3 separate regions of the Homo sapiens genome follow, and all the other regions are linked to region 2. Evidence: promoter capture Hi-C in 16 types of primary human blood cells and fetal thymus (Javierre and others, 2016). All regions are on one chromosome and are shown on one strand. Each heading gives the region's core, a stretch centred on a gene start or on the middle of the fragment in contact. The rest is flanking DNA. Distances are from core to core; before and after follow the strand shown.

What was found. Contacts are between HindIII fragments. The CHiCAGO score rates a contact against its expected background, and 5 or more counts as called.
Region 1: a contact is called between a fragment that was not itself captured here and the fragment with the promoter of POMT1 in region 2, in 1 of 17 cell types (M0 macrophages). The highest score is 5.0, in M0 macrophages.
Region 3: a contact is called between a fragment that was not itself captured here and the fragment with the promoter of POMT1 in region 2, in 1 of 17 cell types (M2 macrophages). The highest score is 5.9, in M2 macrophages.

The regions. Positions count from the first base shown.
Region 1 is chr9:132,256,048-132,260,682 of GRCh38, forward strand. No RefSeq gene overlaps it. Among named protein-coding and RNA genes, the nearest start is that of NTNG2, 96 kb to the left of the region's middle. The HindIII fragment of the contact is 7,993 bases long and covers 1-4,635 here.
Region 2 is chr9:131,500,624-131,505,064 of GRCh38, forward strand. POMT1 (protein O-mannosyltransferase 1) reads left to right here and starts at 2,295. Exons shown (of 20, transcript NM_001077365.2): 1 at 2,295-2,450; 2 at 3,566-3,717. The coding sequence starts at 3,596. RefSeq lists enhancers at 1-592, 2,081-2,948, 2,949-3,814, 3,186-3,245, 3,726-3,805 and 1 more and silencers at 2,196-2,395, 2,466-2,615. The HindIII fragment of the contact is 12,581 bases long and covers 481-4,441 here.
Region 3 is chr9:132,276,094-132,280,656 of GRCh38, forward strand. It overlaps SETX (senataxin), which reads right to left. Exons shown (of 26, transcript NM_015046.7): 21 at 1,977-2,164; 22 at 967-1,059. Among named protein-coding and RNA genes, the nearest start is that of SETX, 77 kb to the right of the region's middle. The HindIII fragment of the contact is 5,265 bases long and covers 1-4,541 here.

The DNA of each region.
Region 1 (4,635 bases), core at 506-3,005, 750 kb after region 2:
AGCCGAGATCACGCCACTCCATTCCAGCCTGGGCAACAGAGCGAGACTTCATCTCAAAAATAAAATAAAATAAAAACCTTCTGTACAACAAAAGACATCAGTAAAGAAGCACAAGCCACAGAGCAAGATAAAATATTGGAAATAAATGTGATACTTAAAAGATTAACATGGAAAATATTTGGAGAATTTTTCTTTTTTTTCTTTTTTTTGAAATGGAGTCTCACTCCGTTGCCCAGTCTGGAGTGCAGTGGTGCAATCTTGGCTCAGTGCAACCTCCACCTCCTGGGTTCAAGCAGTTCTCCTGCCTCAGCCTCCCAAGTAGCTGAGATTGCAGGTGCACGCCACCACACCCGGGTAATTTTTGTATTTTTAGTAGAGACAGGGTTTCACCATGTTGGCCAGGATGGTCTCCGACTCCTGACCTTGTGATCCACATGCCTCAGCCTCCCAAAGTGCTGGGATTACAGGTGTAAGCCACCGCGCCCGGCCAAGAGTGATCACCAAAGTAGTAAAATAGTGAAAAATGGAAACAACCCAAACACATAGGACCGAGAAGCTGGATGTGTGGCCCGCTCCCATGCTGGAATTCTCTAGCTCTTCCAATGAGTGAACTGCAGAGGAATCCTCACCCTGAGCCTGGCTGACACGTGGGACTGGATAACCCTGTCGTGGGGACTGTCCTGCCTATAGTAGGATGCTCAGCAGCACCCCTAGCCTCTACCCATGAGACGCCATAGCATCCTCCCGTGTGACAACCACAGATGTCTCTACATATTGTCAAATGTCCCCCTGAGGGGGCAGAATTGCCCAACTAAGAACCACATTAGACAGGGCACAGTGGCTCACGCCTGTAATCCTAGCACTTTGGGATGCCCAGGTGGGCGGATCACTTGGGGTCAGGAGTTCAAGACCAGCCTGGTCAACATGGTGAAACCCCGTCTCTACTAAAAATACAAAAATTAGCCGGGCGTGGTGGCAGCCGCCTGTAATCCTAGCTGTTCAGGAGGCTGAGGCAGGAGAATTGCTTGAACCTGGGAGGCGGAACCTGGGAGTAACCTGGGAATTGCTTGAACACGCCACTGCACTCCAGCCTGGGCAACAGAGCGAGACTCCGTCTCAAACAAACAAAAAGAACCACATTAGAGCCATATGAATCCTCATGGATAAATCTTAAAACATAGTGCTGGGTGGAAAATCTATATCACAGAAAGGTGGATGCAGTATAACACTTTTCATATGAGGGCTAAAAACACACCAAGAAAACATGATGGCTGCGCACATATGTAGTGAGGTCTCAGGCTCATGTCACTTCTGCAAAGGGAGAGAGGGACAGAGCATGCCACAGGGCTCCAACTGTATCTATAGTTCTTCATTTATTTCCTTAAAAAGTAAAAGATCTAAGGTAAAGAAACAGGAATGGTGGGTACAGGGTGTTCCTTATACTATTATTATCCTACTCTGTATGCGTGAAATAGCTCCCTTTAAAAAAATAACAGGAGGCCGAGATCGCGCCACTGCACTCCAGCCTGGGCGACAGACGAAGACGCCATCTCAAAAAACAAACAAAACAAACAAAGAAACAAACAGCTGCCTCAAAAACAGAAAAGATGACGAGAAGGAGAGGTCTTAGAACGCATCCTTATCTGAAGGACAGGATACAGTCTTGTTTTAGGAAACTCCAGCTGCTCTGTGTCATTGAAAGGGAAGAGGAGAGACCAGATGGTCCAAGTTCACCAAGGCACTGGGAAGGACCTGAGACTGACTGCAGGCCCTTCATGAAAGCAAAGCCTGGGTGTGTTATAACCGCCAGTCCCACTCTCCCACAGTGAGGTCCATCCCGGCAGGGGCTGAGTCCACCTTGACCACTGAGACAAACAGACCTCGTGATGGACTCAGTGTTTTTAAATTGTGGAGCTTGGACAGGGAGGGGCGAGATGGAGAACGAGGTATACACAAAAGAGAACAATGTGATGAGGGCATGAAGTGTGCTTACCAACCTTCCCTCACCCAGAGGCTGGAAGAGATTTTAGAGCTTAACAGAAAAAGAGTGGGAAAAGGACACTGCTGGGCAAAAGACATGAACTAAAGACTTCTCGGCTGTCCCCATCAGTGGCACGGTGGTCTCAGCAGTACCGATGTGGATACTCAAGAACGTGAGGCTACCGTGGAAATGCTTTGCTTAAACCACACGTGAGTTTCCAAGGAGTGAAGATCCCCAGGGAAAGCATCTAGGACCCTGCCGTGTTGGCCCAGCTCTGGGAAGTCAATCGACGTGGACCCCTTACTGTGTTAACTGCTAATCAGCCTTCTGTAAAAATGATATTGCAAATTCACCTGTAGCCGTCTATTTTGTTCTCTTGCTGGTGAGGAATAGGAACTGATGTAAATTGGTGAAGGTTTACTGGAGCCTGTAAGAAAATATTTTATGAAATTAAAAAAAAAAAAACACAAGAGGCCTGGTGTGGTGGCTCACGCCTGTAATCCTAGCACTTTGGGAGGCCGAGGTGGGTGGATCACGAGGTCAGGAACTCGAGACCAGGCTAATCAACATGGTGAAACCCTGTCTCTACTAAAAATACAAAAATTAGCCGGGCGTGGTGGCCCGTGCCTGTAATCCCAGTTACTCGGGAGGCTGAGGCAGGAGAATCGCTTGAACCTGGGAGGTGGAGGTTGCAGTGAGCCGAGATCGCGCCACTGCATTCCAGCTTGGGCGACAGAGCGAGACTCGGTCTCAACATAAAAAAATAAATAACAAGAAACATCACCTGTCTGCGGAAGGCGTACTGTGCTCTGGCCCTGGGAGCCGGCTAAGGGATGTGGGGCCAGGGTCAGAGTGTGGCAGATGGGCCTCTTCAGACAGGGACCAGCTTCCCCAGGGAGGCCTCCTAGCTGAGCCTGGTAAAAGGATGAAGAACATTCTAGGGGGCCAGGCTGGAGAGCCCAGGAATTGCAGACAGAAGTGAGCCAGGCAGGGGCACTCCACATGTGTGTGGGTGCGAGTGTATAATAAATAATGGCTGCAGGGTGAGCCCCAGTTCTGCTAAGGCAGGAGGCAGGGGAATGACTCTTACGGCTTCAGGGGTCTGAAGAGGGGCAGGGGGATGGGAGGCTGGTGATCCTAGTTCAGCAGTGGCAAAGCCGGTGTCTGAGGGAGCCTGGTGGGGGGGTGACCCTGGGTTTCTGCCTCCAGCCCTTTGAGAAGCATGGGCTTTGCGTGTCCTGTCTCTTGGGGTCACACGTGGGAGTTACTGAAGTGAAGGCCCAGGCACATCCGCCTAACAGGGGCGGGGCAGCTGCAGTCCCGCCCACGGCCACCGGGGGCGGTGTGTATGGTTCTCCGCACAAGCCGAGGAGCTGAAGAGCACGGGGAGGATGAAATCTTGCCCGCTCTGCTCTGGCCGTCTGGGTGCAGCTGCGTCCTCCTGGAGGCAGGAAGGGGCACCAGGCGGGCTAGCGTGCCACAGACCCACAGGTGAATGGGCCCACAGCCCAAGTCCTCACCAATGCTCTCCTAAGCAAAGGGAAAGTATCCAGGGAACCTCGGGGTGTTGTTAGGGTTAATGTTTACGAAAGGCTTCGAAGAGGGGCCGGGCGCGGTGGCTCACACCTGTAATCCCAGCACTTTGGGAGGCCGAGGCAGGCGGATCACCTGAGGTCAGCAGTTCGAGACCAGCCTGGCCAACATGGTGAAACCCCGTCTCTACTAAAAATACAAAAATTAGCCGGGCATGGTGGTGGGAATCCGTAATCTCAGCTACTAGGGAGCCTGAGGCAGGAGAATCACCTGAACCCGGGAGGCGGAGGTTGCAGTGAGCCGAGATTGCACCACTGCACTCCAGCCTGGGTGACAGAGCAAAACTCCGTCTCAAAAAAACAAACACCAAACAAACAAAACACCACAAGAATACCAAGGGCTGCATCCCCAAACCAGTAAATCAGTAATGCTAGGATGGATCCCAGGCAATCAGAATTTTTTTTTTTTTTTTTTTTTTTTTTTTTGGTTGTTGTTGTTTGGGACAGTCTTGCTCTGTCACCCAGGATGGAGTGCAGTGGCACAATCTCTACTCACTGCAACCTCCGCCTCCTGGGTTCAAGCGACTCTCCTGCCTCAGACTCCCAAGTAGCTGGGATTACAGGCGCCCACCACCACACCCGGTTATTTTGTGTTTTTAGTAGAGACGGGGTTTCACCATGTTGGCCAGGCTGGTCTCGAACTCCTGACCTCGGGTGATCCGCCAGCCTCGGCCTCCCAAAGTGCTGGGATTACAGGGATGATCTGCCGCACCCGACCTCAGAATTTTTTTTAAAAGCCCCCAAGTGAGCCCAATGTGCTCCCTAAGGTTAAAAACTCAAGGCTGAAAACTACCAATCTGACAATTCTGTTGCAATGCTGCTTGAAAACAAAGATAACTGTGTCTACTGAGCTGACAGGACAGCAACAGAGTTCCTCCTCCTGCAGTTTCAAACACCCAAACTACGAATATGCCATTTCTGCCATTTGACTTGGCAAATGCCTTCTGTGTAGTAGGACAGGGTGACGATAACTCACGTCTTTGGAGTCATGGAGGGATCCCTTGTGTACAGAAACTGCCTTTGTGGTGCTGTACAACATTATCAATTCTATTTGAGCTGAGG
Region 2 (4,441 bases), core at 1,045-3,544:
GGTAAGAATGGGCTGAGGCAGCAGTTCTCGGTTTTGCCATTGCCTCACTGACCTGGGGAAAGACGTTTCACCACCTGAGTCAGTCTCCTTAATCATAAAACACAGATTGTAATGGTATCGACCTCATGGCGTAGTGTGGATTCAAAGTCACCAGTAGCTTTTAGCTTAGTGCCTAGAACCAGCTAAGAAAACTTATAAATTACCCCCAAGAAATAAAACGCTGTTTCCATGAGGAACCCCAGTCCCTCAACTTCCTTCTAAGCCTTTTGACTATGGAAGAGAGTTGGGGACCTGGCCATGGGCATCTCAGCTTTAACTAGCCACACTCACTGCCCTGATTTACTGCTCCCTAGGGACAGGTGGCTCACAAAATCTCAAACGGAGACCAGCCCTGAAAGAGGCTAGTCCTAAGGTTGGGGGCTTGCAAGATGGAGGCTGTAAGTCCTGAGGCACCACCACTGTTAGCATGGCATGAACCAAAGCTTAACAGCCCAGCCCCACTCCCTCCTGGGGCCCAGGGAACCCTCCCTGCCCACTGTAAATACAGTTGCCTGCAGGCTCTGGCCACAAACCCAGGTGAGCCCCAGCTCCTTGCCTCTCTGTGGGATCTTGGGTGAGTCACATAACCCCTCAAGGGTAAGCCATAAAGAAGTAACCACGAAATTCTAACTGGTGTCATCTAATGCTATGTTGCCCAACATGGAAAAAAAGTCTTGCAGGCAGCCAAGAACCATAATGAAGGTTATTAAACCTGCAGTGTGCCCTTTTGGTCTGTATAGATTAACATACAAATAGACCAGGAGATCAAGAAGGAGCGAGGCTGAGAAGAGTGATCCATCAGCCTGGTTGCGTTGCTGTCAGTTACCCTGCTCTGGGTGCCGACTGTTCAGGGAAAACATGGGAAGGGGTGCATTGACCCAACCAAAAGTACCATGTCTGCTCCAAAGCAGGCCTTTGGGAAGGCTCTTGACCCTCAGCAGAGGGGGCTGGAGAGGCTGATGGATGAGGAGGAGCCCTGGGAATGGAGGAAGAAGCCTCCAGTCTTCTGCCACGGAGTTTAGGGGAGATGCCCCCACTGGAGCCTCTGATGGTCATGCAGCCCCCACTGATGTCCAGGTTTTTTTGGTTTTGTTTTTTGTTTTGAGACGGTCTCACTTTGTAGTCCAGGCTGGAGTGCAGTGGTGAGACCAAGGCTCACTGCAGCCTCGACCTCTCTGCCCCAAGTGATCTCCTGCCTCAGCCTCCCTTGTAGCTGGGACTGCAGGCAGACGCCAAGGGGCCCCGCTAATTTTTGTATTTTTTTGTAGAGACGGGGTCTCGCTGTGTTGCCCAGGCTCTCCTGGACTCAAGCGGGCTCACGGATCCTCCCACCTCGGCCACCCAAAGTGCTGGGGTTACAGGCGTGAGCCACCGCCCCCGGCCCTAGGTCCGTTTTAAATGCCCTTACCCTCAGCCACTTCACCGCTAGATGTATGTGCAAGCAGGATCGTGGCATCGATGTTTTTCGGCAAGGAAACTAGGAGCGCCCGCGGGCGTGGGGGCACGTGCCTGTGGTCTCAGCTGCTCTGGAGGCCGAGGAGGGAGGATCGCTTCGGGCAGAGAGGTCGAGGCTGCAGCAAGCCGTGGTCCTGCCACTGTACTCCAGCCTGGGCGACAGAGCGAGACCCCGTGTCTTAAAAAAAAAATTAAGGTCGGACGCAGTGGCTCACGCCTGTAATCCCAGCACTTTGGGAGGCCGAGGTGGGCGGATCACTTCAGGTCAGGAGTTCGAGACCAGCCTGGCCAACATGGTGAAACCCTGTCTCTACTACAAATACAAAAATTAACCGGGCGTGGTGGCGTGCGCCTTCAATCTCAGCTACTCGGGAGGCTGAGGCAGGAGAATCGCTTGAACCCGGGAAGCGGAGGTTGCGGTGAGCCGAGATCGCGCCATTGCACTCCAGCCTGGGCAACAAGAGCGAAACTCCGTCTCAAAAAAAAAGAAAAGAAAAGAAAAGAAAAAAACTAGGAGCAAACTGGCGCGCCCGGCAGAACGCCGTTGTGCAGACGCAGAATTAAGATCTTCACGCCAGATGGAGTGAAAAAGCAAGGAGCAGAAGATGGGTGGGAGCCCACTGCGCTTTTTAAAATCTGCACGTCTGCTTAGAGTACACAGAAATCCTGGCACACAAAACAGTAGCACCCGAGAGAGGGGAGGTCGCCGCGTTTCACACCTGCCTCTCCTCCGGGACCGGCGCCCTCGCCCGCTGCGCACGCGCGTCACCCTCTCCCAGTGCGCACGCGCGCTGCTGCCCGTCTGGCCCCGCAGGCTCGGTGAATCGAACGTTGAGCAGGGCGGTGGGTGGTGCGGAGTGCCGAGCGGCCTCACCCCCAACCGTCGGCCCAGTCGGACGGTTCCGAGGCGTTGCCGGGAGCCGGGCGCGGCTCTGTGTGGACTCGGAGAAACGCGGGTACATTTGGGGACACCGGGGACGAGAGCCCAGCCCGGACTTGGGGGAGTCCGTCAGTGCCGGACGCGGGTCCCTGGCTTGCGGACGGGCTGGGGCCGGGGGCGTCCCCGTCTTTCCGGAGCTGGGGGCGGGGTTCGGGCCCGGGCAGATGCGGCGTTCGGGCGGCCGAGCCCCGAAGTAAGAACTCCGTGGCGCGTGCAGCCCTAGGGAGGAAGGGCGTGCTGCGGGTGCAGTCTCAGGGTGAGGACGGAGCTGGGGCCGACGCAGCCTCGGGAGTTGGTGGACGGGACAGGTGCGGCCTGTGGGGAAGAAGGGCCGGCCAGGGAGATGCGGTCTGCAAGGGGAGAGGAGGCACTCCCAGGACAGATGGGACCTTTTGGGACGAAGGCGCTCAAGGCAGATGCAGCTCAGGGAGGGAAGGGCGCGTCCAGGGTAGATGGGGCCTGAGGAGACCAGCGGGGCGCCAACGGCCAGATGCGGCTTTGGTGTGAGACAGGGTGTCCCAGGCCTGATGCAGCCTCAAGAGAAGCGGAGCTCAAGGGAAGATGAAGCCTGGAGGAGAACGTGGGGGCGCAGGGTGCAAATGCACCCTCCAGGCGAGAAAGGGAGCACCCGGGGATGATGTGCCGCTGGGATAGAAGGCAGGGAGGCACTGGGGGCAGATGCATCCTTGAGGAGAGATGAGGAGGCCCCGAGGCTCGGCCAGGTTGGGGTCCCTGGGCTGTAAGCAGCTGAGATGGCACCCAGGAGCTGCCCAGGGTCAGGTAGCTGTGGCCGCACTGTGGGCTTCTGGTCGTCGGGGAGGGAGGGGAGAAACCCTGGCGTTCCTTAGCAGTGTTCTCGCGCCCAAGACGTGCTCGGCAGGTTTTGTGGAATGAGTTGTTGAAAGGAGTGAATGTCCAGTCCTGAGATCCCCTGAATTCCCACCCGAGTTCACTGCTAGTGCCCCTCACCCCACATGTCTACCTGAACCAAGGCTCCAGGAACTTCGGTCTTTCTCAGCAGCCCGGCTGTGCTGTGGTTCTCCTCGTGTGTCCGGGAGCCGGGTGGCTGGGGATCCCTTCTGTAGCCTCTCGTGAGCCCTCATGGACCACGGCTCCTCCCTTCTTTTCTAGGGCGTCTGCCTGAGCCCGCTTTTCTACAAGATGTGGGGATTTTTGAAGCGCCCTGTAGTGGTGACGGCTGACATCAACTTGAGCCTTGTGGCCCTGACTGGGATGGGGTTACTGAGCCGGCTGTGGCGACTCACCTACCCGCGGGCTGTGGTGTAAGCTAAATGACTCCATTCCCAGGGTGAATCTAGAATTGTACTTTGTGACAGGAGGCGCCCTTACTGAATAGCATAAATGGGAGAGTGAAATCCTGGCTTCTTGGTGATAGGTGTTTTTGGCAGTGAGAGGAGAGACCAGTCTGTCCCCAGGACAGCCCCAGCAGAGTACACCTTTTAGGTCTTGCCTTCTGAGTCTGTAACAGGTGAAATTTGGCCCATTAAAGGGGTGCAGTAGAGGAAAATCTGGTTGCCAGCCTTAAGTAACAGTTTTAAAGTCTGGACGGCAGAGGATTAATGGATTTGGAAGTAAGTCTTCACTGTTGAGAGCACTTTTTAGAATGTGTTTTTGTCATAATGGGAAGTGATTGCTGTTATTATTGAAGGGCTCTTTATTAACTGATTAATGTGTGTATGTGTGTGTGTGTGTGTGTGTGTGTGTGTGTGTGTGTTTTTGAGACGGAGTCTTGCTGTGTCGCCCAGGTTGGAGTGCAGTGGTGCCATCTCGGCTCACTGCAACCTCTGCCTCCTGGGTTCAAGCAATTCTCTGCCTCAGCCTCCCGAGTAGCTGAGATTACAGGTGCCCGCCACCACACCCAGCTAATTTTTGTATTTTTAGTAGAGACGGGATTTCACCATCTTGGCCAGGCTGGTATTGAACTCCTGACCTCATGATCCACCCACCTGGGTCTCCCAAAGTGTTAGGATTACAGGCGTGAGCCAC
Region 3 (4,563 bases), core at 659-3,158, 780 kb after region 2:
GATGCACTGCCCCATCCCTTGATTCCTGAGGCTACCTTACCCGCCTTGCTTTACGAGCCTTAAATACCCATTCTCCTAACTTTGAGACTTACTAAATGGACAACCCAATCAGCTAGCGATCTCTTCCATCCCTGAAATCCTCATGATGCTCTGCGGCTTAACTCGCAATCCTCTGCTCTCCTCCAAGAGGCCTCATTAAAACCTTTAGGCTGCAGTCCCTCCAGCACTACAATCCCATGGCCAACAACTCCTCTGTATGTGTAACCTCTTCAATGAGTGTTCCCTACTTCCACCTCTGTATCTTATCTAACGCCTGATTCTCGCCTGAGGACGCCACCTGCTCTGCAGCCATCCCATGATGTAGAAGTGGGATTTGTGTTTCCTCCTACTTCATGACAGAGTGGCACTTGTATCCGTGCCAACAAATGCTGCCCCTAGACCATTCCTCCCCTACTCTCTCACAAGAATCCCCAGCTCCTCTGACATTGCTGCTTCTAGCAACACCACTCCTCTTTGCTGTCATATACAGACCACCTGAACACATGCCCTTATTCACAACCCAATACCATCCAACCTCTGTCACTACTTCCTTCCTCCCTTTCACATTTTCATTCAACTGAATTTATACTTAGCCTTCACAGTACTTAACCCAACTGGAATAACTGCTTACCCAGGTGATGACCTGCTGAAGGCCTGTCTTCCCATGAGACCACCATCTTGCAATGGGCACGTCTGTTTCCCTCACTGCTGTGAGCTCAACAAGTATCTACTCAAGCACTTGCTTATGACATTAGGTAATATTATCCCCATTATACAGAAAAAAGAAGCATCAACTTAAGTGAACATGACTGTGCCCTGACACTAGGCAGAGAGATGTGTATAGGAAATGTATTTAACAGAAATATGAATGCAAATCATGTAACAATTCTGGGACTATCAGAGGACTGAGGCAAGAGGAAAACATACTCATTATCCCGTCTTTCTGAACCATCTCCAACATCAAACACAAGGTATGGCTGAAATGGCCAATCTGATGAACATCGAATGGCTTCTGTCTGTCTGTAAAAAAAAAAAAGCAGTCAACATTCAGAATAAAGTCAAGATTTAAGAAAATATCTTGGTATTACTACAATTTTTTCTGTGTGGTGATGTGGGCTGGGGCAAGTAAGGGGATAGCAGGAATATTCTTTTCTAGACGTGTATTAGTGAAAGGTACAAAACAAATTCTATTTCTTTCCTGGTGCTGGGAGAGGTGTCTATATCATTAAAATATAACAAGTATGATTGGAAAGACACTCATAATAGAGTAAGCCACAGAATACTATGTTAAGTATGGTCCCACATTTTTCCTTCAAAAATTTAAAAAGTAAAAAAAGATATGCATAGTAAAAGGACTGAAACTTGGCCAGGTGCGGTGACTCTCGCCTGTAATCCCAGCACTTTGGGAGACCAAGGCGGGTGGATTGCTTGAGCTCAGGAGTTCGAAAGCAGCCTGGGCAACATAGCGAAACCCCGTTTCTACAAAAAGAAAAATACAAAAATTAGCCAGGCATGGTGGTGACTGAGTGTAGTCCCAGCTACTCAGGAGGCTGAGGCAGGTGGATTGATTGAGCCTGGGAGGTCGAAGCTGCAGTGAGCCAGGACTGTGTGCCACTGCACTCATCCTGTGTGAGTGACAGAATGAGACCCTGTCTTCAAAAAAAAAAAAAAAAAAAAAAAGGACTGCTGAAAGTGGATATACCAAAATGTTACCAGTGATTATTTCTGGGTAGTATAAATATAGGTGACTTTTTCCCCTTTTCTTTTTTATGTGCTTTGCTGTATTCAACATGATGGCTATTATAACAGGACAAAATTATTAACCCTTCATGATTTATGCTTTTTATGACAAGACCTAAGACGACAGTAAAATGTCTATTCTTCATAAGTAGCTAAACTACAACAAAATAAGGTCACAAACAATAAGGGGAACTCACCTATTTGTTTTTAAGTTTCTGTTATAAACATAATTAGAAGGGAAGAGGCATATGTCTGGATGCATCCTGTACTGAACAGTGAGCTGTAGAATGGGCAGCCTGCTGATCATGTTGTGTTCTACATTCTCTTCCAGCAGTCTGCAGAAGCGAGCCATCATTGACTGGTCGTAGCCATACTCCTGTGCTTTCTGTGAGGGGCAAAATAAAGCAACAGTTTCCAAGAATTCATTTATATCTTTCCCACTATTATAAACACAATTACTGAGATCTAATACGTATATGGCAACGTTCAGGTAGCATAAGATTACCAACCACAGCTTCAGAGAAAAAAGGTGTTTCTGACTCTGAGCCTCAAAATGCCATGAATCTTTTTTTTTTTTTTTTTTTTTTTTTTTTTTTTTTGGAGACACAGTCTCGCTCTGTCACCCAGGCTGGAGTGCAGTGGCGTGATCTCAGCTCACTGCATCCTTCACCTCCCAGGTTCAAGCGATTCTCATGTCTCTGGCCTCCTGAGTAGCTGGGATAACAGGAATGAGCCACCACACCTGGCCAAAATGCCATGAATCTTGAATATATGTGGAGGTCTTTTCTACTCATATACTGCTAATGAAAGAGATATGATCTTGTGAAAGACAACTGATGCTATTTTGATGCTACAAGACGCCACCCAAAAAAACCAGTAATAAAGGAAATGTAACACAGATTTTAACAATTATTTCTGGGGGTACACCCTCACAGACAGACATATTGAATGCCACTGTAAACAAGCCTTTTGAAGACAAAATTCTTCATTCATCCATCTAATATGTACTAAGCATCTATAATTTGAAGTGCTAAGACCACTAGAGTGAATAAGATGAAGTCTCACAGGACTTAATTTCCAGTGAAGGAAACAGACTCGACTTATGTGTTGACCATCCCTAATCCAAAAATCCAAAATACTCCAATGAGCATATCCTTCGAGCGTGAACTTTAAGCATAAAGTCAGCACTTGGGAAGTTTCAGATGGTGAAGCATTTCAAATTTTTGAATTAGGAACGCCGAAGCTGTGCTAAATGGATTTCACAAACCAAATAATGGGTTATATTCTGCAATCTGAAAAACAGTGACCTAAGTGACAAGTGGGATAAACTGTCTTGATGTTACCACAGTTGTGCCTTGGGATCTACTTTCCGATGGCAGCAACACAGAAAGTTTCAAAAAGGGGAGGGGGAGGGATAGCATTAGGAGATACACCTAATGTAAATGACGAGTTAATGGGTGCAGCACACCAACATGGCACATGTATACATATGTAACAAACCTGCATGTTGTGAACATGTACCCTAGAACTTAAAGTATAATTAAAAAAGAAAAGTTTCAAAAAGTACTTTATCTTAAATAACCCTGAAGTAAAAATGTGCTGAAAACTTCACTAAGATGATGGAATCTTCATGAGTGATGTGAAAGATACTGGCACTGAAGACGTGCAAAGCCTGAATAAACTTGTTTCACAAACTATGGGAGTGGAAGAAAGGCATTACTTCTTAACCTATTTATATGTGTGATTTTAAACAGGTTTGTGAAAGCATAAAATAATTATTAATAGATACATGCCAATTTTCCCTAAATCCTCAAAAGTTTATCTGCGTTAGCTCACAAAACCTAATTTTTAATCTTTTCTTTGGGGAAACAGAAAAGGAAGTTATGTAAGGTAACGCATCTACCTCCAGACAAAACCTTAGTCCATTCTACAAATGACATAGATTTATTAATATATATTCTGACATGGGAGGATGTCCCTGATTTACTGATTGAAAAAAAAACCAATTCTGCACAGAATGATTTTGCCACCTTTAAACAAAACCAAACCCACGTACATATACACATAAACATATACATGTATACAAACCATATACCACTTTTTAGTAACTGACTCACTGTTAACCCCTAGAATACAAACACCATAAGGGCAGGGATTTTGTCTGTTTTCTTCACTGTCATAACCCCAGCCCCTAAACAGTGCCTGAATTATGGTGGCACTCAATATATACATACTGAAAAAGACGAATAAACACACAAATGCCTAGCAATATCTGTTAAAAATACTCACTTTCACTGTAATTACCACTAGAAACAGGTGGTCAAAAAAGGCACCTTATGGAAATGAACTTTGTAATTATTTTCTCAAAATAGCCTGTTTTATTTGTACAACAATTTAAACAGCACAAATGGATTTTTTTTTTCTAATTTTTGTTGTTTTTATCAATCATTGAAGTAGGCAGTAAAGTTGAGGCCCATTAACAATCTCTCTTTTCACTATATGCCAAGGCCCTTCAATGAAATCCTGCATCATTTAAAGAAATGGGATACAGAATTTGCTCTTCATTATTCTCCGTGAACAAAGTTACCTGCAGCAGTTCTTCCCTACACACACGGGTTTTCACTGGGTGACGGGTGTGCTTCTGGGCCACACTCTAACATGATCATGTACCTGCGCTCAAATGTCATACAAAGAACTGCACTATCATTCTGAATAATTCCGAAATCAAAAACCACTAACGATAACCACCTGCATTCATTCCAAGCTTCAACAAAAATGCTTTGA